Regions from separate parts of the Homo sapiens genome. Here regions 1, 2, 4 and 5 are each linked to region 3. The links are contacts of gene promoters, found by promoter capture Hi-C in human tissues and cell types (Jung and others, 2019). All regions are on one chromosome and are shown on one strand. Each heading gives the region's core, a stretch centred on a gene start or on the middle of the fragment in contact. The rest is flanking DNA. Distances are from core to core; before and after follow the strand shown. Region 1 has its middle 19 kb from the start of ABCA3. Region 2 overlaps ERVK13-1 (endogenous retrovirus group K13 member 1). Region 3 holds the start of ATP6V0C (ATPase H+ transporting V0 subunit c). Region 4 holds the start of SRRM2 (serine/arginine repetitive matrix 2). Region 5 overlaps KCTD5 (potassium channel tetramerization domain containing 5).

Region 1 (5,773 bases), core at 3,271-5,770, 150 kb before region 3:
TTATTTATTCATATGGCTTCAAATTACATCTAGCATTTTTTTGTTTCAGCCTGAGGGACTTCCTTTGGCATGCTTCTTCGGGCAGGTCTACTAGAGACAAATTTCTTTAGCTCTTATTTACCTAAAAAATGTCTTAATTTCTCCTTCATTTTTGAAAGATAGTTTCGCTGGGTATAGATTCTTGACAGTTTTTTTTTTTTAAGCGTTTTATATATATCATCCCACTGCTTTTTTGCCTCCCTGTTTTCTGATGAGAAATTAGCTGTTAATCTTACTGAAGATCCCTTGTACAAGTTTCTTCTGTCCTACTGCTTTCAAGATTCTCTCCTTGGGCTGGGAATGGTGGCTCACACCTGTAATCCCAACACTTTGGGCAACAGAGGTGGGAGGATCGCTTGAGGCCAGGAGTTAAAGACCAGCCTGGGCAACCAAGCAGACCCAATCTCTACAAAAAATAAAAAAGTTAGCTGGGCGTAGTGGCATATGCCTACATGCCTATAATCCCAGCTACTTGGGAGGGTGAGGAAGGAGGCTCACTAGAGCCTGGCTGGTCAAGGCTGCAATGAACGATGATCATGCCACAGAGCCAGACCCTGTCTCAAAAAAAAAAAAAATTCTCTCCTTATCGTTAGCATTCGACGGTTTCATTATAATAACTCTCTTTGTGGGTTTTTTAAGTTTCTTGTACTTGGAGTTTGTTGAGCTTCTTGGATCTGTAGATTCATGTATTGATCACATTTGAGAAGTTGTTATTTCATTATTTCTTCAAACATGTTTTTATCTCTTTCTTCTCCTGGAACTTTCACAATGTGTATTTGGTACACTTGATGGTGTCCCATAGGTCCCTTAGGGTCTGTTCATTTTTCTTCATTTTTTTTTTCCTGCTCCTTAGACTTGGTAATTTTAACTGCCCTATCTTCAGGTTTGCCGATTCTGTCTTCTGCTTGCTCAAATCTTTGAATTCTTCTAGTGAATTATTTTGTTTCAGCTTTTATGCTTTTCAGCTCCAGAATTTCTATTTGGTTTCTTTAAAATTTTTCTGTTTATTGAAATTTTCTGCTTGTACACACTTCATTCTTCAGATTTCCTTTAGTTCTTTGTCCATCATCTTCAGCTCTGAGAATATTTAAGACAGTCCATTTAGAAGTTTTGCCTAGTAAGTCCTATGTCTGGGCTTCCTCAGGAATGGTTTGTGTCAGCTTCCTTTTTTGCTGTGAATGGGTCATACTTTCCTATGTCTTTGTATGGTTTGTAATTTTTTACTGAGAGCTATACATTTTGAATACTGTAGTTGGTAGCTCTGGAAATCAGATTCTCATCTCTCCTCAGAAATTGCTGTTGATACTTGTTGAAAACTGCAGTTGTCCATTTGTTTAGTGACTTTGCTAAAGACACTATATTTCTTGTTATGTGTGAGTACTGAAAGTCTCTGTTTCATTATCTCTGCGTTCAGCCAGTGACTTGACAGATTTTTTTTTTTTTTTTTGAGACGGAGTTTCGCCCTTGTTGCCCAGGCTGGAGTGCAATAGCGTGTCTCAGCTCACTGCAACCTCCCCATCCTGGGTTCAAGCGATTCTCCTGCCTCAGCCTCCCAAGTAGCTGAGATTTATAGGCATGCACCACCACACCCAGCTAATTTTTGTATTTTTAGTAGAGATGGGGTTTCTCCATGTTAGTCAGGCTGGTCTCAAACTCCCGACCTCAGGTAATCCACCTGCCTCAGCCTCCCAAAGTGCTGGGATTATAGGCGTGAGCCACTGCGCCTGGCCTTTTTTTTTAATTTTTTTTTTTGATGGAGTTTCACTCTTGTTGCCAAGGTTGGAGTGCAATGGTGCGATCTCGGCTCACTGCAACCTTCGCCTCCCAGGTTCAAGTGATTCTCCTGCCTCAACATCCTGAGTAGCTGGGATTACAGGCATGTGCCACCATGCCCAGCTAATTTTTTTTTTTTTTTTTAGTAGAGATGGGGTTTTGCCATGTTGGCCAGGCTGGTGTTGAACTCCTGACCCCAGGTGATCCACCCTCTTCAGCCTCCCAAAATGCTGAGATTACAGGTGTGAGCCACCGCGCCTGGCCTGCATTCACTATTGAAGATGCTGCTTCTAAAATTCTTATATTCAGGAGAAGGAAACACTGTCTCTGTATTTAAGGAAGTAGCATTACAGGAAGTACAGTAAGAGACAAGAGACACAACACATCCAAGAAGGAGGACTTTCCAGGAACAATAGTCATATTTTCTCCATTCTCCGTATTTATATGAGTCTTGTTTCTTTAATTTCTTTTGTGCAAAGTTAGAGATGCTTTCACCTGAGAAAAAATATATTCCCCTTTCTTTCCCCACTGGAAAAATGTTTTCTGTAAATGAAAATCTCATTTTTGTTATAATAATAGTATCTAAAAAATTAAAGCATGTATTACACTTGGGAAACAAAAAGATTGAGAAGAGAAGGAACTTTCTGCTATCCGAGGTATTTTTCTTTCTCGCAGTCATTTTTGCTTCAGTCACATGCCTACAAAGACTGCATACCTTTTAATTCATTCATTCATTCATCAAATATTTACTGAGTTCCTACCATGTGCCGCCTCTGTTCTTGTGTCTTGGGATTCAGTGTTGGAAAAAAAAATCAGAACAAACAATTCCTGCTTTCACAGAACATAAATTTGAGTAGGGATGTCAGATTAAATAAGCAAATAAATAGCATGTAAATCATTTAAAAGTGCTAAGAAGAAAAATAAACATGGAAAGTTGATATGACATCTATAGGGATGTTGAAATTTTATATAGAATGATCAAAAAGACCTCACTGAGAAAGTGACATTTGAGGAAATATCTGAAAGTAGTAGGGGAGCTAGAAGTGTTGATACACGAGGGAAGTGTGTACTTGACAGAGGGATATGAGTTTTGAGGCAAAAGTGTGTTTGGTGTGTTTTAGGAGGAGCAGCTATGCCTGTGACACAGGAGCAGGGAGAAGGAGAGAAGTAAACTAGGAGACAGAATGACATGAGAAAGTGAACAGGAACTATACCATGTACAACTGTGTAGTTCATTGTAAGGCAAGGCTTTTGCTTGGAGTGAGATAAGAGCCAGTAGAGAGTTTTGAACAGAGGAGGAAGCGTAATCTGACTCAAAGAGGGTCGCTCTTATTGCTGCATGGACAATGGATTGCAAAGTGGCAAGGGCAGATGTACTGATACCACCAAAGAAGGTATTGCAGAAATCCCGGCAAGGGACGATAAGAATAGGGGTGGTGAAAGGGATTGAATTCTAGGTCTATTTCAGGGGTAGAGCCAACAGGATTTGCTGACTAACTGGATTTGAGCTGTGAAAGAGAGAGAAGTCAACAATAATCCTGTATAGAATTAAATACTGTTGATATTTTGGTATTTAACCTTCCAGTTTTTTATATACATGTTCATAATTTTATATATTTTTAATTAAAATTGAAGTCATCCTCTACCTACTGCTTGTAACCAGTTCATTTTGTAACATGTTGCTTTCCTGTGTCATTAAAAAAGAATAAGCCCAGGCCAGGTGACTCACGCCTCTAATCCCAGCACTTTGGGAGGCCAAGGTGGGCAGATCACTTGAGGCCAGGAGTTTGAGATCAGCCTGGCCAACATGGTAAAACCCCATCTCTACCAAAAAATACAAAACTTAGCCAGGCATGGTGGTGGGCACCTGTAATCCCAGCTACTTGGAGGCTGAGGCAGGAGAATCGCTTGAACCTAGGAAGCGGAGGTTGCAGTGAGCCAAGATCGCATCACTGCGCTCCAGCCTGGGTGACAGAGCAAGACTCCGTCTAAAAAAAAAAAAAAAAAAGAAAGATAATAATCCTATATAACTCAAAGAATGGAACTGACGTTAACAGTGAAGAAGACTGTAGGACAATCTTTTAACAGGAATAAGAAAGCTCAGTTTGGGCATGTCAACTTAGATGAAACACATGGAAGTATTAAGCCGGCAGTTGGGTATCTGGATTTAGAGTCAGAGGCAAGGTCTAGGCTGGAGATACAAATTTAGAAGTCACCAGCATATAGATGGATTCAAATCTAAGAGCTGAGTGAGATCACCTAAGGAGAGCACAGACTGAGCCCTGGAGTGCATTTAGAGGTTGGGAAGAGGAGGAAGTATCAGCAAAAAGACTTAGAAGGAATTCCTAGAATGATAGGAGGAAAAGTAGTCCATCACAATGATCTGGAAGCCCCAAAGAAGAAAGTTTTCAAGGACGAAAAAGTAACTCTTAACACTTTTGTGCTATGCATAACATTTTCCCTCATTTGTTTCCTGACTAGTGATGAGCCCTCCTCTTCAGCTAGGAAAATGACGGTGTTCAGAAAGTTAAAACTTCTTCGCTGGAAGGATTTCATCTTAAAGTTGGTATGGTTATCTGTGGGAAGATATAAGTCCTTGGGGGGGATTGAATGTTTAAGTTAAATTGGTTCATAATAACGGGTTAAAGAACAATTAAGAACTTTACATGGAAAGGGGCCCTTTTCTGCAAATGAGTCATGTAATTATTAAAGATGACATCATTGTTACTGATTTCTGGCCATTGGAGTTACAGAAAGGCTAAAAGGAGATGTTTCAAGCTAATTCTTACTCTGTGTTTTTCTTTTTCGTGTGTTTTGCAGGGAGACTGGAAGAAATTAAAGTGTTCTAAATGGAAGAGCATTCACCACATGTGTTCTGTTTTGGGTTGACATTTAGCTTTTGTTTTTATTTTAGAAACGGAAGACTCTGGTAGCAGTCCTTGAAATCTTGATGCCATTGCTATTTTCTGCATTGTATTGTATCTTCGTTTTAGTAGTGCTCCAATAAAAAGACCTGCTACTAGCTGCCATGCAATTGATATCAGTTTGTTGCCAGACTTCTACAATTTTCCTGAAAAATAGATTTCAACTAGTTTATATCCCTTCTATAAGTGAAACATTGAAGGCTGTCACCGAAATGGTGGAACAGATCTTTGATGTTGAGTTTGAAGGTTAGATGTAAATATGGGTAAGGATCGGGAGGACATTTTTATAAAGTACAGTTTGAAGTTTTTCCCCGAGAGTTCTTACAGTAGTGATTCTAAATCTAGTGTCTCCAAATTCTAAAGAGCCTATGAGGTGGTAGTTGGGGGGAAGCTGTCCATGAGATATTTTTATTATTTCAAACAACATATGGAGTCTTGTCTATATATGTCAGAAGGCTTCAAGGCTAATTAAAATGTTAAATGTTAAGTATTTGTTTTTAACTCACTATCATGACACCTATTATCTCATATTAATCCAAAGGTCTGATTGGCAATTATATGTCTCTAATAAAAAATGGAAGGCATTCAGAGAGTCAGAGGGTCTGAAATAGCTTCTAACTTGTTAACTGGTCTCTGCTTCTCCTCTTGTCCCATTCTAATCCAGTCTCCGTGTGGAGGCAGAAAGATCTTCAAAAGCTCAATAGGATCCAGCTAGTCTCTAGCTTAAACCCCTTCAGTGGCTTCCCATTGCCCTGAAAGAAAACCAGCTCTTCTCCAGGTTCTGACCCTGCTTTTTTCCCAGTCTTATCTAGTTTGGCTCTTTATTGTGCTCCCACACACTGGTCATGTTGGTCTTTTACTTCCTAGAAAGCAGCTACATGAGGTTTTCTCCCAATAGGGCCTTTGCAGCAGGTGTTCCTTCTGACAGTGCTTTGCCCTCAGCCTTCCCTGTGCATTGCTCCCTCTTAGTCTTCACGTTTCAGCTGAACTGATGCCTAGGAAAGCAGCTAAATCGGTTTTAGGTTTCTCACCTCTGC
Region 2 (5,785 bases), core at 1,793-4,292, 160 kb after region 3:
AGGGACCAAAAACACCTGTAGGAACAGCAATACGTGGCTCTCCAGGCAACAAAAGAAATATTTCTGGTACAACAGAGATCTACTGCTGCTGAGCCTGTGGTGACGGGGGACAAGCATTGTACTGAGATTGGTGTTGGGGCTGAGGCATTAGATCCTGTGGCACAAATTGCTGAAGTGGGAATTGGGGTGGAGGTTGAATGGATTAAACTGGGAAGGCTCCTGTCTGGCTGGACGCCAGCGGCTGAGAGTTGAGGAATGCCCCATTGTTTAGAGGGGGCTGGGGCCGGCCCCTCATCCCGTTTCCCTGATTTTTAAAAGGCCGTACAGGATTGCCATCAATATCAAATCTGGAATGGCATTGAGATGCCCAGTGAAGACCCTTTTGGCTTCGTGGGCATACAGCAGAAGGTGGGGTGTCTTGTTGCTGAAAAGTTTCTTTTTGTTGTTGGTGGTGATGTAAAGGACGGCCACCTGCACGCCGAGGGCAATTTCTTTCTGCATGTCCCTTCTGGCCGCATATGAAGCATTGGCCAGAGAATTGTCCAGGCATTCGAATAGAGGCCATAGCTTGTGCCATAATCGTTGCTGTATGGAGAGTTCCTCCCACCCCTTCACAGGCTTTAATGTAGGAGGTGAGTATATCACCACCCGGTGGAATTTTACCTTTGGCGGGGCAAACAGCCGCCTGACCATCTGGATTTGCTTGTTCATAAGCCATAAGTTCTACAACAAGTCTTTGGCCGTGGCTATCAGGAATAGCCTTTTCTGCTGCGTCTTGAAGACGAGTAATAAAGTCTGGGTAGGGCTCATGTTGTCCCTGTCTGACGGCTGTGAAAGATGGGCATACTTTACCATCATCTTGAATTTTGTCCCAAGCATCTAAGCAACAATTTTCGCAGTTGTTCAATAACCTCATCATTTAGTATAGTTTGGTGTCGGATTGCGGCCCATTGACCCATTCCCAGTAACTGGTCAGCCATAACGTTAACAGGAGGATTAGTGCCCTAAGACAAATGCGTTCCTGGACAGCATCAACCCACCAAGTCCTGAACTGTAAATATTGGGATTTAGATAAGACTTGATTTTGCCAAAATTTCCCAATCATAGGGTACCAAACGTTTATCTTCTCCTAAGGCTTTTAATGTGGAACGGACAAAAGGAGAGTTGGTGCCATATTGTTTCACTGATTCTTTAAAATCTTTGAGGAATTTAAAAGAAAAACTTTCCCATGTAGCAGGGCGTAGCTGAACCTGGCCTGGATGGATGGGGTCAGGCTGAATTACCACCTGAACAGCGGGAATGCCAGGTATTGGCTGTGCCCCAGGAGCAGGCAACTGCGGAGGCTGATTATTTACCTGAGCAGCCTGAGTTTCGGGCTGAGGGGCTTGATTATCAGCCTCTTGATCTTGTTGAGCTGCGGGGTCAGCCGCCTGCTGGGCAGGATCAACAACAGGCTGTGGGTGGTTTTGTACTGCTGGGGTGGCAGGTACTGGAGGTTGTAAAATTACAGGAAATTGCCAAGTTTCAGGATCCCCATATTCCCTTGCTTGAACTATAGCCCTCATAAGCGGAGTGTCATCTTCAGGGATGTATGTAATTTGTTGCTTATGAGCGGCAATGGTAGTATTGGCAACAGCAGTTGCGACCGGACCAGGAGCAGAAAAAGAGGTAGAATTTTGAATAGAAGGAGAGTCAAAAAACTGAAAGCCAGGGTGACAGCAGATTACCTGCTGAGCAGGTCTTTCATGGGCCTGAAAACCAGGCTGCCACGGCAAGTGTGAACCAGGCTTCAAGGGAGTCTGTGACTCTGAGTCCGATTTGCAGGAAAGGAACCAGGCTTCAAGGGAGCCTGTGACTCTACCCAAGTCTGATTTATAGGAAAGGGACCAGGCTTCAAGGGAGCCTGTGACTCTGAGTCCGATTTGCAGGAAAGGAACCAGGCTTCAAGGGAGACTGTGACTCTACTCGAGTCTGATTTATAGGAAAGGGCTTCAAGGGAGTCTGTGACTCTAACTGAGTCCGATTAGGAGAAATAGGATTGAGGGCCTCATTACCGGGCCGAGAATTGGAAGCCTCTTTTCTGAGCTGTTCATATAGCGGAGCCTCTGTACCGGGCTGCATAGAAACATAATTTATAGACTCGTTTACAGGCTGCCTGGTCTCATCTGCTATTTGCACAGCGGCAGCGTTGAAACAGTGAGGAGAGACAGGAGGGTCTGGCTGCAATGGCTGTTGATATGTTTCAGCTGAGTTTTGCTGATTGGGGGAGATTAGTATATTTAGGTCAGTTAAAAGATCATCATAAAGCGGCAATGGGGGTGCAGTAGCCTCTGGTGTAGGTGGAAGTGGTGCAGGCATGTCAGAGTGGAAGTCCTCCTTTGAAATTACGTTCTCAATTTGTGTAGTATCCTCAGGGGAAAGAGAGCTGAGCGCTTCCTCGACCTCCCTCAGAGGAGAGGAAAGAGGGATCAGTCTCCATATTGTCCTCCTGAGTCTGTAAGGAGTCTAAGACAGAGTGAACCGAAGCCCAGATTGACCAAATGGTGGGTGGGATAAAATGTCCCCCTTTATGAGCAATTTTGAATTGTTTGCCAATCTCAACCCAATCTTTAAGTTCTAGAGTTCCCTCAGTCGGAAACCAAGGGCAAAGAAGATCTACAACCTCAAATAGTTCAATTAACTTTTCAGTAGAAACTTTAACACCTCCTTCTTTAAGAAGAGTTTTTATAAAATTTAAATAAGCCAAATACTTTGTACTGGCCTGTCCCATGGTGTCCCCAGAAAACTGAGTGCTCAAGCTTACCACCAAGTTTATAGACTGCAATCCTCAGGAATCTCTCGTTGAACTCCTCCGCTGATCCCGCACTCAGGGTGCAACTTCACACAGCGAGGGAGAGCCCCACGTCAGAGCGCCAGATGTAGGGACCAGCCCCACAGGGTCGGTGGGTCTCTCCCTGTGTGTGGCGATGAGAGAGTGTAGAAATAAAGACACAAGACAGAGAGATAAGAGAAAAGGCAGCTGGGCCCGGGGGACCACTACCACCAATGCGCGGAGACCGGTAGTGGCCCCGAATGTCTGACTGCGCTGTTATTTATCGGATACAAGACAGAAGGGGCAGGGTAAAGAATGTGAGTCACCTCCAATGATAGGTAAGGTCACGTGGGTCACGTGTCCACTGGACAGGGGGCCCTTCCCTGCCTGGCAGCCGAGGCAGAGAGGGAGAGGAGACAGAGAGAAAGACAGCTTATACCATTATTTCTGCATATCAGGGACTATTAGTATTTTCACTAATTTACTACTGCTATCTAGAAGGCAGAGCCAGGTGTACAGGATGGAACATGAAGGCAGACAAGGAGTGTGACCACTGAAGCACAGCATCACAGGGAGACAGTTAGGCCTCCGGATAACTACGGGCAAGCCTGACTGATGTCAGGCCCTCCACAAGAGGTGGAGGAGCAGAGTCTTTTCTAAACTCCCCCGGGGAAAGGGAGACCCCCCCCCCGCCCCTTTCCCGGTCTGCTAAGTAGTGAGTGTTGTTCCTTGACACCTTTTGCTACCACTGGGCCACGATCCGCCGGGTAACGGGCGTCTTCCCAGACGCTGGCGTCACCGCTAGACCAAGGAGCCCTCTTGTGGCCCTGTCCGGGCATAACAGAAGCCTCGCACTCTTGTCTTCTGGTCACACCTCACTATGTCCCCTCAGCTCCTCTGTATGGCCTGGTTTTTCCTAGGCTATGATTATAGAGCGAGGATTATCATAATATTGGAATAAAAAGTAATTGCTGCAAACTCATGATTAATGATATTCATATATAATCATATCTAAGATCTATATCTGGTATAACTATTCTTGTTTTATATTTTATTATACTGGAACAGCTCGTGTCCTCTGTCTCTTGCCTCGGTGCCTGGGTGGCTTGCCGCCCACACCCTCTTACTACTGGGAGCTCACCTTGCCAGCTCTAGACTCAGCTTGGACTGGCTGTCAGGGCAACGTTGCGTACAGGAATACATCACACTATGCACCAGACCAGCCACATAAGGAGGAACTCCCCAAAAGGAGAGAGAAAATCGAAAGCCACTTCTCTCCATGCTCCCTGCTTCTCCCCTCACCTTCCCCTAAGGATGCAGCCACCTTTGCAAAAGACAGAACCACCCCAGGGAGGGCAGGAGGCCACTCTGCCTAGTCCCCCAATTCTACCTTCAGCAAAATCATTATGTTTCTTTGTTCCAAAGGGAGGATTCCAAGCCTCACCCATTCAGAGTATCGGCCCTCAAACAAGGCCGAATCACAGCCTCTTCCCAAACAGCTGCTTTCTGACAGCAGGAGGCTGAAACAGGCCCCGGGGTCACAGAGTTCAGCCATCTGCCAAAGAAATATGTACAGTTCTTCCATATGAAGACACCCCTCCTACCTCCAGCACGGCATGGTCAAGACATTCAGGCCCAATCCCCGGGAAGACATCCTGGGCAGTGGCACTGAAGATTTCCTTACAGAGTGCTGGGCTGAGCTGCCCGGCAGACCCTCCCTCGGGGGCTCCGAACGTGAGGGGCAGGGTGACACTGGAGTCTCTACCACTTATGAGGCAGGTACCTAACGCCTCTGCAGCTCAGCTTCTGCACCTGTAAAATGGGAACAACACGTACCTCGCAATGAGGTGTGAAAGTACCTAGGGAAGCGCCTGTCTTGAGTAGTCAGATCAAGAAATGGTACTCACTGCCTCTGGCCCACTTACCATCAGACTGGGCCAGGCCACTGTCTGCCTTCACGCTCGCACTGCTCCCCCTGTTGGCTGTCCACGCGGGCACACAAGGGAAAGTTCACTGGGAAGGGGGCTTCTCACACAGGGCCTACAGGGCCACCCTAAAGTCCAGATGCAAACCCACTTGAACCCTGAAGATCTATCCATCCTCAGGTGAAAATCCAGTATCAGGGCTGCCTCTACCATTACAGACAGGAAACACGGCATGTTCTCACATACGTACACATGGGGGAATCCAGCTGACAGAGATGCAAAACGCTTGTTCGTGACACTTCCTCATGTGGAAATCCATCTTGCATTCTATCATTCTTGCTCACTGGATTCCAGTGTTTTTGTGCAAAAAAGCCATCTCATGCGAAGAAAACTGCAGATATGAAATGTCCATCATGTGGAACTGCCAAGGCCATGAGAAAATTTGCTGTTTCCTCTTCCCGTGGATGACACCAAATACACACCTTGCATTGGAACAGCGTTACTGGGTGCGAGTTAACCTCACAAACTTCGCCATGACTGTCACTGGGTGCAGGTTAACCCCACAAACTTTGACATGACTCTCGGCCCCAGCCTCCACTGAGCCTCGCCAAGCCGCCTAATTCATGGTTTTGCGTGTTAGCCAGGGCACTCTGGGGTACAGCCACACATGTCGAAATAGCGAAAGGCATCCCTTTCAGCCCTCCAACTTTTTCTCAACAGAACCTTCTTCCTTAACACTTCGGATTATTACGCATCTCTACAAACTCCACGAGTGAGCTGCAGAAGGTTCAAGAGCCTCCTGATGTAGTTACAAAATTCAGTGTCACTCTGCATTTTTCTCAAAAGAGGGCCCATACCTTCCCCGGTCTCTACTAAAAACACAAAAATTAGCCGGGCATGGTGGCACACGCCTGTAATCCCAGCTACTCGGGTGGTTGAGGAAGGAGAATCGCTTGAACCCGGGAGGTGGAGGTTCCCGGGTCAAGATCGCGTCACTGCACTCCAGCCTGCGCGACGGCAGCGAGACTCCATCAAAATAAAATAAATA
Region 3 (5,714 bases), core at 2,107-4,606:
AGAGGTTGGGCGTGGGCTCACGCCTGTAATCCCAGCACTTTGGGAGGCCGAGGCAGGTGGATCACGAGGTCAGAAGATCGAGACCATCCCGGCTAACACGGTGAAACCCCATCTCTACTAAAAATACAAAAAATTAGCCGGGCGTGGTGGCCGGCGCCTGTAGTCCCAGCTACTCCAGAGGCTGAGGCAGGAGAATCGCTTGAACCCGGGAGGTGGAGGTTGCAGTGAGCCAAGATCGCGCCACTGCACTCCAGCCTGGGTGACAGAGTGAGACGCCATCTCAAAAAAAAAAAAAAAAAAATCACAGAGTGTGAGGGGAGCATCCAGAGAGGCCTGAAGGGGGTGTCTGAGGAGGAAGAAGGAGGGGAAGGAAAGTGGGGGCTTCCTGGAGGAGGTGGTGTTCTAAATACTGAGACCCATTTCTTTTTTTTTTTTTTTGAGACAGAGTCTCACTCTGTCGCCCAGGCTGGAATGCAGTGAGGCTGTCTCAGCTCACTGCAACCTCCGCCTCCCGGGTTCAAGCGATTCTCCTGCCTCAGCCTCTGCAGTAGCTGGGATTACAGGTGTGTGCCACCACGCCCAGCTAATTTTTTGTATTTTTAGTAGAGACAGGGTTTAACTGTGTTAGCCAGGAGGTCTCCATCTCCTGACTCGTGATCCACCCGCCTCGGCCTCCCAAAATGTTGGGATTATAGGCACCCCGCCAACTGAGGTGCATTTCTTAAGTAGGGAGTGAGGAAGAGAGTTGGTGCAGACACAGGTGATGCAGACACGTTGGGGGGCTGGTGATGAGAAGCGGGAGGGGACCAGGGAGGGCTCTTGAGGGGCCGAAGGATTCCAGGATGGAAAGTGCCCTTTGGAAAGAACCTGTGGCTTTAAGGTGAAGACTCGGTTGATTGGGGGTAGGCGATGAGAAGACCTAGGCCAGGCAGCGGCAGGGGCAGGGGCGCGGGCGCGGACACAAGCTGGGGAGGCAGGATCTCGGGATCCTGAGTAATACAGAGTGGGGAGGGAGCAGTGGCGTGACGTCAGGCTGCGGGGGGATGGGCGTGCCTTCTGCGGGAATGGAAATAGCCCAGTGGAAGGTGGTGGTGAAGGGGTGGGGGCGAGCTCAGCTTCAGACACGCCAGCTTGAAGTGTCAGGAGCCACACTGGAGACCCGGTGTGACCTCTCACACTAGAACTTAGGCAGAAAATGAATGGGTAAGAGGCCAGTGAGCACAGCTGACCCACTCCCTGCTCCTGCAAGAGGGAAGTCTCTCCACGTCCCCATGTCCCCAGTCCTGGTGTTTCAGCCACAATGGAGTTAGGTGCTCTTTGCCCACCCTACAATGTTTTGTTTGAGACGAGGTCTCACTTTGTTGCCCAGGCTGGTCTTAAACTCCTGGGATCAAGCAATCCTCCTGCCTCGGCCTCCCACAGTGCTGGGATTACAGGCGGGAGCCACCGTGCCCAGCCCACCCCTGAGCTTGGACTGTGCTGTTTCTCCATGGTGGGCTGCTCTGCGCCACCTTTCCTTGGTCTGAATTCGGCCCCAGGCACAGCCTTCCTGGCCTAGGCTTTCCTGGAGGGCTTGGAGTTATGGGGGCAGGCACTGGTGTTGCTCTCACTCAGAGGGCGGTCGGGGCTGGAATGGTGCAGGTGAGGGACAAGACGGCGTAAGATGGGGGACAAAGCCAGGGAAAGGATGGGATCAAGCAGGGGAAGGGCAGAGCTAGGGGTAGCCCTGGGTATGCCAGGACCTGCAGCAAAATTGGGGCTACAGGGCCTTGTGACTCCAGGAAGAATGAGGGCGTCTGAGATTTAGGAAGTCCGCAGGAGAGAGGAGAGTGTGTGGAGAGGGTGGCAGGCCACGCAGCACAGAGGTCCACTTGGACAGCCTGACAGATGTCCTTCTGCTTAGAGAAATGGCGGTCACCAGTGACCTTGGCAAGGGCAAGGAGCTGGAGAGGGAAGGGCAGGTGAGGAGGTGGAGACAGAGTGAAGATTCGTCTTCTCAGAAACAAGGGCCGGGCAAGAAAGAGGGAGGAGCAGAAAGGGCCTCTGGCCGTATCTGTTGCCTCCTCTCCTTTGAACCAGGACAGACTTAGGGACTTTCACGGGCTGCAAGTTCCAAGAGTGGCAGACCCAGGCTAGCCTGGGGAAGGGGCTTGAGGGAGGCTCCTGCTGGGGAAGGTGGGGCTGAGTCCAGCAGGAGGGCCAGACCAGGGGCCATGACCCCATTGCCTACATAGAGAAGGTGATGAGCCAGCATCCAGGCTACTCAGGGAGAGCTCTAACCCAGGATGAGGCCTTAGAGCTCAAAGGACACTCAGGCCTGGTGGCAGCTGCCCAGGGCCCCTGAAAGGGGGAATGGAGATCAGGCAGAGGGGGTGCCAGGGACTGCCACACAGGATCAGTAGGGCAGCGCCAGCCCTGGCTGGGCTGCTTTCACGGCTGCGGGAACCGCTCCAACTGCTCCAGAAAGACAGAAAGATGGCCCTGAAGGTGCAGGCTTTGCGTGAGTGGGTGGCTGCAAGGACAGGTGGGAGGACCAGGACGCCAGAACGTGCAGAGCCCGGGGGGCCTCCAGAGGTCGCAGTTCCGACAGGGCTTCCACCAGTCATGCCTACATCTTGAGGGGCAGAGACACACCCCACTAATGTTTGGGTCCCTGATGCAAAGGCAGAGACAGGTGCGGGGAGGGGGTCCTTTTTCTCCGAAGCGAGAGGTGAAGTCACCAACTGCTGGGTCAGAGGCAGTAGGTCTGGGTCTGGAGGAGACTGGGGACAGGGTGGAGGGAGGTGACCGCAGCCACGGGCTGGGACTTCACAGGTGTGGGCTGGGGGCTTTTCCGGACGCTGTGGCAGAGGAGGCCCGCGCGCCGCACATCTGCTGGGACCCTTAGCTCGCCCAGGATTGGTAGGGAGATCCTGGAAGACCAGCGCCCGGAGGGGTGAGGCCCCGTCTTGGGGGCAAGGCCGCGAAACCACGGCCTGCAGCTTCACGCCAGGGGTACAAAGAAAAGCGTCGCCGGGAACCCAACACCTGCAGACGACGCGCAGCCGCAGAGGAGGCGGGGCGTCCGAGGCCCCGCCCCGTATGCTAATGAAGCACACACCACACCGCCCCGCCCCGGCGCGAGACCGGTCCAACGCTGCGGAGATCCAGAGGCCGGCGGCGCCCGGAAACACCCGCGGAGGCCGAGGCAGGGCGGGGCCGGGCGCCGGGGCCGGGTCGCTGGGCGGGCGGCACAGCCCGGGGGAGGTCAACGGGCCGGCCGGGCGTCCCGGGGACGCGTCTCCCCCACGGTGCGAAGTGGTACGGCTCGCAGGGGCGGGGCCCAGGTCATGTGACGCGGCCGCGGCCGCCATTTTGTTCTGCGGTGCTGGTATTTAGAGCGCAGCGGCTGACGGGCCGGATCGCCTTCGCCGCCGCCCGCCCGCAAACCTTCGTGCCCGGCCCGTCCTCGCCCCCGCCTCCGCCACCGCCTCGGCCCGCAGAGCTTGCCCCCTCCCCACCCGCAGACATGTCCGAGTCCAAGAGCGGCCCCGAGTATGCTTCGTTTTTCGCCGTCATGGGCGCCTCGGCCGCCATGGTCTTCAGCGGTGAGCGCGGCGGCGGGAGGGACTCGGGGGCGGGGGCGCGCGCGTTGCTCATGCCCGCAGCTCGCCGGGGTCCGGTGTGTGACGTCACTCTGACGTAATCCCGAGCTGTCGGGGGCGCCCGGGCCTCGTGTGACAGCGGGCGGGGGTCGGCGCCCCGAGGGCTGCGGGGAGCCGCCGGGGGTCCGGGGCGCAGGGCGTGCGGGCCTGGCCGGGGTGTGAGTCTCGGGGGTCCGGGCCGGCGGCCCTGCCAGCCGGGTCGTGCGGTTGCGGGGGTGGGGCGGCGGCGCCGCTGCCATATTAGCCCCGGGAGCGGCGAGAGGGAGGCTGGGGTGGGGGCGCGAGGGGGGCGGCGCGAGGGGGGCCGATTCTGCGGGCAGGTGACATCACACCTCGAAGGCCCCAGTGCGCGGGCGGCGGCGCGGGTCCGGCCCAGGAACGCCCAGCCGGTCGCTGGAGCTTTCCGGCTGGTGGGGAGCCCATGTCCCCCACGGGAGGTCCTCAGCCCTCGCCCTTATGGCGGCCGGCCCCGAGGGTCAGGTGGGTCTCACCCACAGGCAGGTACTTCCGGTTGGAGCTGGTTACAGTTGCCCAATACCCGTGTCGCTGTGTGGGCTGTTTGGGAAAGCTGGGCTGAGGGCTTGGTTCGGAGAGCCCGCGGAGACCCGGGTGGGAGTGTGTGGAAGTGGAGGGAGCGGGGAGACAGCAGCATCGGCGCTGGCGGGGCTGTGTAGCTTGCAGAGGGTCTGTGCTCTGAGGTGGGTGAGAGGGTGGCATGGGTGTCCGAGTTTATGGGATCCAGTCGTTGCCCTCAGGACTGAGGCTTCCAGTTGTGGTCCTAATGAATGGAGGGGTGAATGAATGACCTTCCTTTCCCTCCCTGAGGCCTGAAGTTGGGAGGGGCTTCCCTGGGCTTGGAGAAGGGGCCTTCTAGGGTTCTTGGTGGCACCCTGCTTTTGAAATTGGGCCTTGACAGGTCCTGGGCGTCCAATTTAGTGACAATTGGTCTCCCTGGGAGAATGGCACTTGGGCTAGGGCTAGGCCCAGGAATGTGGGTCCGACGAGTTAAGTTCTGGCCCAGTCTCAGCCTCCGTGGACTGGCCTGGCCTGGTCTGATTTCCGCCTCCGTGGTTAGGTCTGGTTTTAGCTTTGATGACCGTGCCCTGCCCCACCCTGCCTGGTGGCCTGGGGAGGCTCCTAGTGCAGATATGTGGAGGGTTTGAACTCCAAACAGTCTCTGCTGACTGTAAACACCTGTGGGGTGGGGGCTTGGAGCTCTCTGTTCTCTTGCGGGCCTCCTTCTGCCTGGGCCTGTCTGCCATTCGTGAGTGAGCCCTGGCCTTCCCGTCGTGTGCAAGTAAGGGGTCATTTGTGGTGGAAGAAGTGGTCTAGACTTCTCCTTCCCCCTAGGCACCGCCTGCTCTTTCCACAGACTCAAGGCTTCTCCCAACAGGCTGCCGAGCCCTTCCCCCCAGCCTCCTCTGTTCTTTGCCCTCAGAATGCCTTCAGAGATTCCATTTTGCCTGGCCACCTGTGGGGTATTAGCTTGTGGCTGTCACTCATTCATCCAAACAATCTTGATTGAGCGCTTACTATGTGCCAGGTACTGGTAGGACAGCAGTGAACAAAATGGGATCCCCGCCCATGTGGAACTTAAATTCTAGCTGTTGCTGCTTGCCCTTGAAGCCCTGAGTTTGTCCACCAAGCCCTTTTTCTGCACCCAGCTCCTTTCCTCTCTCTCCGTCAAGACCTACACAGGTCTTTGGGCAGCCTGACCAGCAGGTGTCTGGAAATTGAGAACACGGTATTGCTGGCCTAGGCCTTTCCTGCTTATCCCTGGCTCTTCGGGATAAACGTGGCTTACTGTGGCTCTCCAGGAGCTGACCTCTGACTTCACTTGGCCAATTCAGACAACTGCTTTTTTTTTTTTTTTTTTTTTTCTCCCCTCCTCAAGACAGGGTCTTGCTCTGTTTCCCAGGCTGGAGTGCAGTGGTGTGGTCATGGCTCACTACAGCCTCAACCTCCCAGGCTCAAGCAATCCTCCTGCCTCAGCCTCCTGAATAACTAGGACTACAGGCACAGGCTACCATGCCCAGCTAATTTTTTTTTTTTAGAGACAGGGTCTCGCCA
Region 4 (6,299 bases), core at 3,186-5,685, 240 kb after region 3:
GAGGCGGAGCTTGCAGTGAGCCAAGATAGCACCACTGCACTCCAGCCTGGGTGACAGAGCGAGACTCCTTCCCAAAAAACAACAACAACAAAAAAGAAACTTTGTAAATTTATGACTGTAACCTCTTTCAAAGAGACTAGGAATCTTAAGAAAATAAAATGGTGCTTGGCCGGGCGCGATGGCTCACGCCTGTAATCCCAGCACTTTGGGCGGCTGAGGCGGGCGGATCACGACATCAGGAGATCGAGACCATCCTGGCTAACACGGCGAAACCCCCTCTCTACTAAAAATACAAAAAATTAGCCGGGCATGGTGGCGGGCGCCTGTAGTCCCAGCTACTCGGAAGGCTGAGGCAGGAGAATGGCATGAACCTGGGTGGCGGAGCTGGCAGTGAGCCGAGATCGCGCCACTGCACTCCAGCCTGGGCGAAGGAGCGAGACTCCGTCTCAAAAAAAAAAAAAAAAAGAAAGAAAATAAAATGAGTGCTTTTCTCTGTTTGTTTTTCAGAAATGGGAGGTGGTGGGGGGAGTCTCACTATGTTGCCCAGGGCTGGTCTTGAACTCCTGGGCCTCAAGCATCCCAAAGTGCTGGGATTACAGGTGTGAGCCACCACACCTGGCCCCAATTAGTGCTTTAAAAGCTCTCTAAACCCTTACATCACAAAGAATATCCCTCCTCCCCCTCCAGAAAAGAAAGGGGTGGCTGGACAGTATCGACCTCACCAGATGTGCTACACCAAGGCCAGAAAGAGCCGCTGAAGTGGCTTGGACATGGGCCATGCCAGCTGCACGTGGAAGGCCATTCCTCCCGGCACTCATTTCCAGTGTTTCATATCTGCTTGTCCTGGGTACAGGAACCAGGGCATGTTTCAGAGGTTCAGAGCCAAGTACTTTTGGGGTCTGGGTACTGCACAGAGAGGGCCCAGGCACTTGTTCTGCTTGCCGTGTGCCCCACCATGCCTGCGCTGAGGACCAGCCTCAGTCCATCCTGCCCAGAAGGCTGGGAGCACACATGGGGCCTGGAAGCCAGAAGGCCTCTCAAGAGACCCTGCTTGCAGCCCTGTGGGAGGGGTTGGATGGGGGCTGGGGTCTCCAGATAAAAAGGTAATTCGAGAAACCCTCCCAGGCAGCTGGGAGGTGGGAGGCTATGGCATTAACCCCAGGGATTGTCCTTCCTGAAGGTCTGGTCTCCCTCTGGAGGGCAGGATGCTTTTGCAGACATCATCCTCACCCCCCTACCCTGTTCCCATCCTCCCTAGCACCTGTCCTGGCTGGTAATTGTCTAGTTATTTGTAATGTAAGCTCCAGGAAGCCAGTGTGCAAATGGGAGGTGCTCCACTCACCAAAGGCTTCCCAGTCTTGGGCCCCAGGCCAGGGGGGTCTGGAGGAAGGCTTGCACCACAGGGTCCTCCACCAGGCCATGGAACTGGAAGCTGAAGGCCCACACAAGGCCACTGCCTGGGAGAACAAGCATAGGCAAGTGTGCCCGTCATGGACTGTCACAGAGCGGAGGGAAAAGAGGCCACGGGAAGGACCAGCCTTGGAAGGCCCAACAAAGGAGTTGTGATGTCAACCTGAGGGTGTCTGGAAGAGTTTTAAGCAGTTCAGAAGTTTGCATTTTAGGAACATCACTCCGAGGTGACAGCCGCTAGGATGTCAGCCATGGCTGTCTCTGGGGGTGGTGCCCCTGTGTGCTTTTTTTCTTTTTGCTGATTTGTATATTTCCTGCAGTGAATGTGGTTTACCTGTGCATGTCACTTTCCTAGGGCTGCCATAAGTCACCACGAACTTGGTGGCTTCAAACCACAGAAGTGGGTTCCCCTACAGCTCTGGAGGCCAGAAAGTGGAGACCAAGGTGTGGACAGGGTTGTGCCTCCTCCAAAGGCTCTGGGAGAGGATCTGCAGGGCCTCTCCCAGCTTCTGGCTCCTCCTGGAGATCCCTGGCATGGGCACCGCTCCGAATCTCTGCCTGGGTCTCCTACGGCCTCTTCCCCCGGGTGCCTGTGTCCTCTTGTCTTCTTGTAAGGATGTCAGTCATTGGATTTACGGCCTACCCTAAATTCATGATGATTTCATCTTCAGATCTTTAACTCAATTACATCTGCAAAATCTCTTATTCCAAATAAGGTCACCTTCCGAATGTCTAGGTGGTTGTGAAGTTTTGGGGCACCACCGTCCACCACACTACAGTGAATAAAAAAATAAAGTTTAAAGGGAAACTAAAAAATCATTCTAGGGCTGGGTGCCATGGCTCACACCTGTAATCCCAGCACTTTGGGAGGTTAAGGGGGGAGGACAGTTTGAGCCCAGGAGTTCAAGACCAGCCTGGGCAACACAGGGAGACACAATCTCTACAAAAAACTCCACCTCTACTAAAAATAAAAAAATGAGCTGGGTGGTGGCGTGCGCCTGTAATCCCAGCTACTTGGGAGGCTGAGGTACAAGAATTGTAGTGCGTGGAGATCGTGCCACTGCACTCCAGCCCGGGGTTAGGAGTGAGACTCTGTCCCAAAAAAATAAAATAGACAAAAGACACGAAGAGAAATTTCTCCAAAGATGTACAAACGGCCAACAAGCACATCAAAAGATTCTCAGCATCATCAGTCATTAGGGTACTGCAAACCATGTTTTGTCACTATTCACGGGCATTAAATGTGCTGACTCACGCACAAAACATTCCATAAAGAATATCAGTGGGGGTACAGGAAAGGGTCTCACTGGAGGTGCTGGGGTCTTTAACCAGAAAGGCAAAGCCTTTGCCACTTTACTATGCCACTCCAGAGTTGCGGCCGGCTTACAGAAGCACCGTCCATAGATGCAGAGTTCAGACACTCCAATCTGCGATCAGAGCTCCTGCAGGAGATGGGGGTGGTGGGGGGGAGGGTCTCCCGGCTCTAGCATCTGAGATAAGTACATCCTCCCACGGGCAAGTGAAAAACAAATCTTAAAGCCGGATACGGGCCGGGCGTGGTGGCTCACGCCTGTAATATCAGCACTTTGGGAGGCTGAGGTGGGCAGATCACCTGAGGTCAGGAAATCGAGACCAGCCTGACCAATATAGTGAAGCCCCGTCTTTACTAAAAATACAAAAATTAGCCAGGCGTGGTGGCACACGCCTGTAATCCCAGCTACTCGGAAGACTGAGACACGAGAATCACTTCAACCTGAGAGACAGGTTGCAGTGAGCCGACAACACACCATTGCACTCCAGCCTGGGTGACAAGTGCGAAACCACGTGAAAAAAGAAAGAACAACAACAACAACAAAAAACAAGGGCCAGATAGGGTGTCATGCACGGGTAGTCCCAGCTACTTGGGAGGCTGAGGTCGGAGGATCGCTTGAGCCCCAAATTCGAGAACAGCCTGGGCAAAACCCTGCCTCTTAAAAACACCCCCAAATCGTAATAACAAATATAAATCCTTGCACTCAAATGGACAGTTCATTACGTGGTACCGCGTCCTGTTGCGGATCAAGGCCACCTGAGTTGGTTAGGACAGCTAAGCGGGACGTCCAGGGCTGCTCGCCAGCGGTGGGTCTAGATATGAACTTGTGCTTGAGCAGCCCAGCGTCTTACAACTCTGCTGTGAGGACGGCTGGCTGATTATCAGGCCCAGAATCACGGGCTTAGAAACATTAACAGGAAGTACGGTACCGAAAAGTGGAAACTTTAAGGTGCTTATTATTTTCCTCCTGCCTTGTTCCTGTATGTGCCGCTTCACCGGTATCACGTCCTGGGTCTGGTGGGACCCCGGCCTGGCTGCCCTACCGGAAGCTAAGAAAACTCCTCCCCCAGGGGTGGCCGTCGGGCCTCAGCCCGGTCTACAGCGGGAGAACGTGGCCCATGCTACGGGTAACTGGTTGGGCCCCTGGTGCAGGTCTAGGGCCTGCAGCCAGGCTCGGGGCCTCCGGGGGTGCCCGCTGGCTGGGGTCTGAGGCGGCTTCTCTCGGGTACGGGAAGGCGGACTGCTGTGCAGCTGCGGGCTCGCTCGGGAAACCCAAAGTCACACGAAAGCGGCAGCACCACCGCGGCTGGGATATCGTCTCCCAACATGGGGAGACAAAATGGCCGCCACGCCCCGAGCCGAAATTACATCCGGGCTCCGCGACACGCCCGAACCACAACTCCCAGAATGCTCTGCATCGACAGCGGGAGACGAGACGCGCTCGGGCGTCGCTTTGCTGCCGCTAGGCCCTGTGCTCCTCCCCGCAGCGGAAGGCCTACGAATACGCGGTGTCTTACGTCGCTTCCTCCGTTCTTCGTTGCACTGGCCAACGGGACGCTTAGTCTTTCGGCAACGGGGTGAAACCTTCCTTGTGCCTGAAAAAACGGTACTTCGCGGTGTGGCTTCGGCGCCTGCGCAAAAGGCCGCGGGGCGCACTCCAGTTCCCGGCAGGCCCCGCGACGCGCGTTTGCGTGCTGACGCACGCAGTTAGTCGTGCTGACGTGCAGCGCGGCCCAGGCGGGGTGCGAGTGGCGCAGTTGGAGCCCGTTGCGGCCCCTGAGGAAGCGAGGAGGCGTCGGCGTCGGCTGAGGCGGGCGGACCGGCGAGGCGAGGCGGCGGCCCCAGGCCCGAGGGACTCGGGAGCTCGAGCAGCGGCGGCGGCAAGACCTCTCCCCCTCGGAGGCGGCGGGCGGAGGCGGCGGGTGAGAGGGTGAGGGAGCCAGCGAGCCGGGTGGGGGAGGGGCGGCGGCCCCGGCGCGAGGCCAAAGCGCGCGGAGAACTGCCCAGGCCGCCGAGCTCCTCCGCGCGCACGCGCGCTCGACGCCCTTCGCTGGCGCGGACGCCCTCGCCTCCCTTCCCCCTTCCCGCCGTTCCTGTCGCGCGCGGGCTTCACCCCCCCCCGCCCCTCCCCCATGACAACGGCGTTCGCAGCCGCCTGTACTCGGGTTCGCGAGCGCCCTTGGTGAGGGGGGAGGGCGCGCGCCTCGGCTTCACTCCTCCCCCCAACATGTGCCGCCGAGGTGGCCTTCCTGCAGCTGCCGTTTTCGGCCCTTAAGTGGCGGGGAAGGGGCGGCGGCGGGGGGCTTGCTCCTGGACCCTTGCCCCCGGTTCCAGATCTCCTTTCCTCGGGCTTCTCTTCGGCGTTGGGCTGCCCGTGTCGGGGGCCTCCCAGACTGCGGGACGCCGCGCAGCCCCCTCCCCCATTCCGCAAGGCCGAAAATAGGCCCCCGGCGCTGCGGGGAGGGCCTTGAACTTCGTGGGCCGGATTTAAATGGTTTAGGATTCCCGGCTATCAGCCTTTGAGTTGTTAGTGGCGGGGAGAAACCCCAAATCTTAAAAACTGTGAAGAAAGTGAACGTGTTCAGTTTACATTTGTAAGGTAGACCGTGCGTTCCCTTTTTACACTTTTTCAACGTCTCCCGAGAATTCGTGTTCAAACTAAGGAGGCTTTTGGAGACCTTCGTTGGGAAGAAAACGCCAGACTCATATATAAGTTTTCTGGTTGGTTTCAGGCGTTCTTTGGCACACAGCTCTTCTGAAGCTTGGTTTCCACTCGGCTTCAGTTAGGACGAATCTGGATCAGAATTTCAGAGTGTTGTGTTGTCTTTCATCCTAAGTGCGTGGGCTTAGGGCTCTTCTAAAGCTACTATTTTAGCTTTCTGGGTTCTTTGTGTCCACTCAGCCGCTCTGGAGCGCCCCGGTGCTGAGCTGGCTGTGCTTGCTGATGTCCATTTTTTTCGACAACCCTTGTCTCCCCTTTTTCTCCCCTTTTGGTACCGTTTTCTTTTTTGCATATTTTACTGTTGAATTCAAATATATCTTTCTACTTCATTGTTAGCTTACCACTCGGATAATTTCCCAACAGAAAAGGGTGTTTTTGTCTTCCTTTGTACTTTTTACTTTCTGCTTTTAACTTGGGTAACTTTTGCATATCCACTGTCTATGGCCCCCACTTTAAGAGTTTTGTAATATCGTTTGGTTTGGTGATTTGTGTGTGGTGTTGATCTTCCTACTTTCTGTGTCTTAACACACCCCTTAGATGCCGTGGGGTCGTCGTCTTTTTTTGTGGGGTGGACTAGGTGGCTCATTCCCTAAAAGTTCTCCGAAACATTGTGACCTAATATCCTTTGCTTAGCACCTACTGGTTTTTCTTTTTTTTTTTTTTCCGAGACGGAGTCTAGCTCTGTTGGCAGGCCGGAGTGCAGTGGCGCGATCTCGGCTCACTGCAACCTTCCGCCTCCCGGGTTCAAGCGATTCTCCTGCTTCAGCCTCTGGAGTTGCTGAGATTACAGGCAATCGCCGCCGCCCAGCTAATTTTTGTATTTTTGGTAGAGATGGAGTTTCACCGTGTTGGCCA
Region 5 (5,826 bases), core at 430-2,929, 180 kb after region 3:
GAGGCTGCTCCTTTCAAGTCTCTTCCTAACTGGATGCACGTGGGGTCCCCCGCGGTGCCTCAGCCTCCCCTGCCTTTGATGGCTGGGTATTTTGCACCCAGGCTGCTGGCCCCTGAGCACAGGGATGGGCTGGAGCCACAGGCTGCAGGGAAAGCGCATCAGGAAGGTTCCTGGGGCGTGCGGTTCCCACACAGGTGCGTCCGGGGGCTTCCTGGTCCCTCTGTCAGGAGCCTGAGCTCCAGGGACTGAGACGAGCTGGGCAGAGCCTAGCCACTGTGGCCAGAGCTCTCACTGCCAGCAGGATCTCTCTTCAGGCACCCTGGAAAGGTGCCATGGCTCCGGCTGGTAAACTTGGCCTTGCAAAGCTCCACGTCCCTGTGTCTGGATGTGCCCAGCCCTGCTGATACGGTGTCTTTAGGGTGTCGCTTTTCTGGCCAGAAACGTCTCTGGCCGGCAGCACCTTTGTCCAAGTTCCTGTTCTGCGTCCAGGAAGAATGAGGTAGCAGACAAGTGGAGGGTGAGCATGACGAAGAGAAGCTTTACCAAGTGTTGGGACAGTGCAGAGGAGACTGTGGGGGCAGCTCCTCTCTGTAGGCAGGTCGGCTCATTCAGTTGGCAGCTCTCAGCAGAGAAGCGGCCCCGGACTGGCTGGCTCCTCTCCATTGACTTCCCAGCTCTCAGCAGAGAGGGTAGCTTCCCTCTGCAGCTGGTCTTCCACTTGCCAATTGTCTCTGTCCTCTTTGTCCTCTGCCCTGCTCTGGCTGAGCCCAGGGCTCTTATGGACCCAGAGGGAAGGAAGTGCATACTAATTGGTTCATGGGCAGGCCCGGAAAACGCACCACAAGTCCCCACTTTGGTCCCCGGGACTGGCAGCCCGGCCCCAGCCTTCATGCCCTCCCTGGCCTGAAGGTGGGGCCTTACCGGGGACCTACCCCCTTCTTCCCAGGAATCTATCTGCCTCCTGCTGCCATACATGGCGCCTGGGCTCGGCCCCAACTTTGCTCCAAGATCGGAGCAGGCACCAACAATAGGAGTAAGCCAGGCAGTGAGAGCAGGCACTTCTGAGCCTGCAAGGGCCCGGCAGAGGGGCCTTTCTGGGCCCCCAAGAGTGCAGGGATGCCTGAGGCTGTGGTTTGGGCAGCTGCAGTTGTGGGCCTGCCTGCTCCGTGGAGCGGGAAGCCCGGGTCTGCAGCCATAGTTTGGGTGGGGCGAACCCCAGGGCTGCAGCCCCAGGCAGCCCCACGCAGATCCTCCTCCCGAGGCCCGGGAACCTGACATCTTCAGTGGGGTGGGTGTGATGGCTGTGCCACTGGCTGGGTCCTCACCGCTGGTGCCACTCTCACTACCCACCCCAGGCCCCCGAAGCACAGCCCCAGCTCTGCATCGGGGCCCCTCTCCACCCAACCATGCTGCTCTCCTGCCATGCTGAGGGCAGTGGGCTATGGTGTGGGGAGTGGGGTCTGTTCGCCTCCTCCCTGTTCCCTCCCTGCAGCGGCAGGTATCACGTGATGGCAGCAGCTGCACCAGTTGGCCTGCTGCTGGCATCACCGCACTGGGCCAGCTGTGGCCAGACTGAGGTCAGGAGTTCCTTCAAAGCATCAGCCACAAAAGCTGCCTCCTAAAGGGGGTGTTTAATGGAAAAGCCAGCCCCGCCCAGTGGTAGGAGTGGCCAAGACACGGCAGCGGCCTACCCCTGCCTGCCCGTCTTGAGGCCGAGCCCAGTGCCAGCACGCTCAGTGCCCTGCCGGCTCCTTGGACCTGTCTGTGTTCCTCTGTCCTGCTGTGCAGTTTCCGCCGATGGCCGTCCCCACCCTGCCCTCCTTCCCTCCTGCCTTCATCCTTCCAGTTGCAGGGCTGGGGTTGCCTCGTGTGTCTGGGGGCGCCCAGCACGCTTCCTTCTCCTCTTGCACCGGCCCAGGGCCTGAGAAGCACATGGTGGGTTGTCTTGGCCTAGAGGTCACGGCTCAGTGCCCAGGTCCTGCCACAGGTTGGGTGCCCTGGCACTCATGGCGGCCCCGAGCTACACGAGCTGGTCTCCCCCACCTTTTGCTCGTAAAGAAACTGAGGCTTGGGGTGGCCTGGCTGTGAGCCTGCAGTCTGACCACTGAGGCCAGGCCTGGAGGCCTCCATGGCTGACAAAGGGGTTCTCTGGGGTTGTCCTGGGCAGAGGCGAGCCTCCGCCCTATCTGATCTTTCCTGACCTCCTGCCAGCGGTCTGTCGAGGTAGCAGTGAGCCGTGAATAATTCCTGAGCTGAGCGGTGTGCGGACGTCACGCGGCCAGCATTCTCTCTGTATGGGGGTGGGGCAGGGAGGAACCCTGGACTCGGGTGGCAGCACTGGCCGCCTTGCCAGACTTGGGCCCCTTTGTGGGAAATGGTGTCCATTTTTTAGCAGTTGCGCAGGACCGCCCAGCGTCCTCTTCCCGGGAGCTGGCCCTGTGGCCCCGGCCCTTGCTTGAGAGCTGTGGAGTCTGGAGGGCTGGGGAAAGGCAGGGCCAAGCCCAGGAGGCAGGGCCTGTGGGGTGGGCAGCTCTGGCTGGAGTGTTCCGGGGGAGGGTGGGGAAGGAGGATAGGGTCAGGTCTGTGTGGAGCTGGGGTCACCCTAAGGAGTAGGGGGGCCGCCGAGGCTCCGGGTCCAGCGCCCCCATGCCCGGAGCCCTAATTGATTTTATCTCAGCCACAAAACTCAGTCCCTGTGATCTAAAAAGAGCAGGTTGTTGCAGGTTTGCGGTGGTGGACTTTGGGAAAATCTCTTGAGACCACTAGGTCTTAGCACCCAAATGGCAGAATTTGTCCATGGATGAAAATAGGGTCCTAGCGTGGCCCCGTGCTTTGTGGTGGAGACACCTTCGGCCTCCCCATATCTGCGAGCCTGGCATTCCCGTGGCCAGCGCCTGCCCATGGCCCCACAGGAGCCACCATCTGGTGAGGGGGCTGCTCCTGCTCCGAATGGGGTGTGGGGTTGCTTCTCCAGCGCTTGGCCCTGGGCCTCGCCGGGGAGGCTGCCGGTGTTTCTGAACGGAGGCCTCAGCTCCCCGGCCTCCAGGGCACCCGCAGGCACCAGCCCCTGTGGGAGTGGCTCGCAGGTGGGAGCAGGACCCTTGCAGGCATGTGGGGGGAGGCAGGAGCTGCCCCAGCAGAGCCACACGGAAGGTCTGAGTCTGTGTAGAAGACAGGCTGTGCCAGCTTCGCAGTCCCCCCATCAGATGTGTAGCCGACAAGACAGAAACTGCCTCTTCCGTCTCCCCCATGGGGGCTGCCTGGGGCGTCTGAGCCCCCGTCCTGTGTTCACGGCCGGGCCACTGGGGCTCTTGTGCTTTGTGGAAGGGGCTGCAAGGTGTGATGTGTGGGGCACCCCGGGCCTCAGAGGGCATCTGCCCACATTGAAGTGGCCGTGGTAGCAGCAGGGGCAGTGCCTCTCAGGGGTCCCTCCACCCAGGTGCGTGAGGACACCTTCCGAGGGGTCTGTTTTGTAAACATCTCGGCCTCCGTGAGCGCTGAGCCGGGGCGAGGGCTCTGTGAGGTGAGTGATGATCTTGGGGAAAGCCCCGGATGCTGTTGAGTGCCGGTCACTGTGGCCTCCCTCGCTGCTGGCTCCCGGCCTGTTGGGCAGCCGCCCCTGCTGAAAGGTGCCCTCTCCACCCCTGGCAGGAAGCCCCTGTCACCCTGACCCCCGGTTCCTGCATGTAGGCTGCGGAGGACCCGGGCACGAGGAGCGCAGGCCCAGGCTGGTGGCCATCAGAGGTGTCCTTCTGAGGCTGAGCCCTAGGCCCCTGCCCTGCCCGCGAGGGCATCTCTGGGTGAGGTTTTCGTGTGTGTTTTCCTAGAGGTCTTGCAGTTGTGAGGACAGAGGTCCAGGGCACAGTGGGCTCACCTTGGAGTACGCAGAGCCAGGCTGCCTCCGTACGGAGAGACTTAAACTCACTTAGACCTGGGGTGGTGGCTGGTCAGGGTTAGGCTGTAGGCGGCAGGACGTGGCCACACCGTCAGGGGTTTCCTGAGATGCCGCAGGCTCAGGTGTGCTGGGGAGAGGCCTGGGTAACCTGGTGCCTCTGAAGCCTCCTGAGGTGGCCGGGCCTTGGTGGACCTGCAGGAACCTTCGGCTTCTCACGGAGGACTCACCGTGCTCTGCTCTCTTTAGGATGAAACAGGCGCCTATTTAATCGACAGAGACCCCACCTACTTTGGGCCTGTGCTGAACTACCTGAGACACGGCAAGCTGGTGATTAACAAAGACCTCGCGGAGGAAGGTAAGCCGAGTTTTGGGCACAGGTGCCTTAGCTTTGGGGGCAAGGGCCCGACAAAGGTGCCAAGGGCTCCACTTAAGACACAGATGCCTGCAGCCTGGGGCCCCAGGGAGGAGCAGGCCCTGTACTCTGAAGCTGGGGCCGACGTTCTGGTGCTGAGGCCACGGGCAGCGGCGCAGCTGCCGGACAGGGAGGCCTGGGGACCCTGTGGGTGTGGGGTCCTCCCTGGCTGCAGCTCCTTGGAGGGCTCCCTCTGTCCAGGCTCCGGCTGGCGACACAAGGGGTGTGAGGGGTTCCTCCCTGCTGTGACTGAGGTGGTCTGAGCGGGTGTGTGAGGCACATGCCCGGTGATGCCCACGGCGTGCTTCAGGGCCTGGTTCCCTGGCCTGCTCTCCCTCAAGGACAGCCCAAGGGTGGTGAATGTCTCTGTGCCATCACCTGGACTGTGCCTGCTGCTGCCAGCTGCCGTGTTCCATTCTGAGTGATCGTGGTGCAGGGACGGCGCCCACACGCGTTGGGCCCAGGCTGGCCTGCCTGTGTGCTGCGGTGCTGGCTTGGCTCAGAACAGCTCGAGGCCTCGCCGTGAAGGCTGAGGGTTTCTGGGCACCTGCGTGCGGGCGTGGCCCTGCTCCCCCGGGTCCGTGTCTGCGCATCGGTCTGCACTGGGCAGCGTCTGACTCCGTTTCTGTTCTGGGCCTCTGGGCCTCGGCATCTGCCTGCCTCCTCCGAGTTCACGCGGGGCGTGGAGTGACGGGGGCTGTGGCCCAGCCCTGCCCCTGCTCTGAGGCTGTGAGCCATGATCCCCACTCCTGTCTCTTTGGCAGGGAATGTCTTTCACATGTACTCTCTCTGGTCGCTTGGGCAGCCGCTTGTGTTGTCGTGGAGCCGCTCGAGTCGAGGCTTCGCTTTATCTCATTCTGCCCCTAGTGGGATTGGCTCAGAAACGGGCGCTAGACACAGACCAAGGCCCTGCCGCCCAGGCTCACCGGTCTGCCTCTATCCCGCCCCGATGCAGCCACTCACGCCCTGGGTGCTAGAGAAGGGGGCTGTGCGGGACCCATGCGGGGCCGGGAAGCCTGTGTCTCTGAGGCCCTCGTCTCCTTGTCTCTATCCTGCGTGGCCCTGTCCCATGTAGGTGGCTGGGTGTTGTCCTGAGCTGCCATGTGCCATATGTGGGTTCCTCTGGGGTCCTGGAGGAATGAAGACCACCCATGAGGAAGCCCTGAGGCAGGACCTGTGGAATCTGCTCTTAAGGCTCTTAAGGGAGGTTTGCAGTCCCTAAGTGCGGCACATTACGGATGGCAGTCTTTGGGAAGAGCTGGAAGTGACCCTCTCAGCCAGCCACAGTCTTCCCTTTGAATGGGGTCAACTGAGGTGCCAGGTGACTGAGACATATGCACAAGGCCGCAGGCCTGAGCCCCACACAGCACCCCACCCAGTGGCGTGGCCATGAGCAGGTTCCCAGCAGGAAGCGTCGGCCTCCAGGCTTGGAGGGAAAATGCCAGATCCAACCCCCAGCATACCATGGCCTCGGCGTAGACATACGCTGAGCTGCATGTAAGCAGCGGCTCCATACCTG

The links. Contacts are between HindIII fragments. The study calls those that stand out against the background at their distance.
Region 1: a fragment that was not itself captured here is called in contact with the fragment with the promoter of ATP6V0C in region 3 in 2 of the 25 tissues and cell types used here (dorsolateral prefrontal cortex and liver).
Region 2: a fragment that was not itself captured here is called in contact with the fragment with the promoter of ATP6V0C in region 3 in 2 of the 25 tissues and cell types used here (bladder and dorsolateral prefrontal cortex).
Region 4: a contact is called between the fragment with the promoter of SRRM2 here and the fragment with the promoter of ATP6V0C in region 3, in 1 of the 25 tissues and cell types used here (dorsolateral prefrontal cortex).
Region 5: a contact is called between a fragment that was not itself captured here and the fragment with the promoter of ATP6V0C in region 3, in 1 of the 25 tissues and cell types used here (dorsolateral prefrontal cortex).

What each region holds. Positions count from the first base shown.
Region 1 is chr16:2,356,823-2,362,595 of GRCh38, forward strand. It overlaps the pseudogene ABCA17P. Among named protein-coding and RNA genes, the nearest start is that of ABCA3, 19 kb to the left of the region's middle. The HindIII fragment of the contact is 3,614 bases long and covers 2,714-5,773 here.
Region 2 is chr16:2,666,608-2,672,392 of GRCh38, forward strand. It overlaps ERVK13-1 (endogenous retrovirus group K13 member 1), which reads right to left. Exons shown (of 3, transcript NR_040023.1): 2 at 2,804-5,785. Among named protein-coding and RNA genes, the nearest start is that of ERVK13-1, 3.9 kb to the right of the region's middle. RefSeq lists a silencer at 3,269-3,485. The HindIII fragment of the contact is 5,955 bases long and covers 66-5,785 here.
Region 3 is chr16:2,510,596-2,516,309 of GRCh38, forward strand. ATP6V0C (ATPase H+ transporting V0 subunit c) reads left to right here and starts at 3,357. Exons shown (of 3, transcript NM_001694.4): 1 at 3,357-3,587. The coding sequence starts at 3,509. RefSeq lists enhancers at 479-1,082, 1,873-2,167 and silencers at 3,073-3,552, 3,973-4,112. The HindIII fragment of the contact is 15,008 bases long and covers 1-5,714 here.
Region 4 is chr16:2,748,203-2,754,501 of GRCh38, forward strand. It overlaps SRRM2 (serine/arginine repetitive matrix 2), which reads left to right and starts at 4,436. Exons shown (of 15, transcript NM_016333.4): 1 at 4,436-4,644. SRRM2-AS1 (SRRM2 antisense RNA 1) reads right to left here and starts at 4,398. Exons shown (of 6, transcript NR_027275.1): 1 at 4,240-4,398; 2 at 1,343-1,457. RefSeq lists enhancers at 3,316-4,158, 3,758-3,927, 3,988-4,277, 4,159-5,001, 5,002-5,844 and silencers at 4,458-4,767, 4,788-4,847. The HindIII fragment of the contact is 13,386 bases long and covers 1-6,299 here.
Region 5 is chr16:2,691,794-2,697,619 of GRCh38, forward strand. It overlaps KCTD5 (potassium channel tetramerization domain containing 5), which reads left to right. Exons shown (of 6, transcript NM_018992.4): 2 at 4,142-4,250. Among named protein-coding and RNA genes, the nearest start is that of KCTD5, 12 kb to the left of the region's middle. RefSeq lists enhancers at 707-1,525, 1,526-2,343. The HindIII fragment of the contact is 3,408 bases long and covers 1-3,383 here.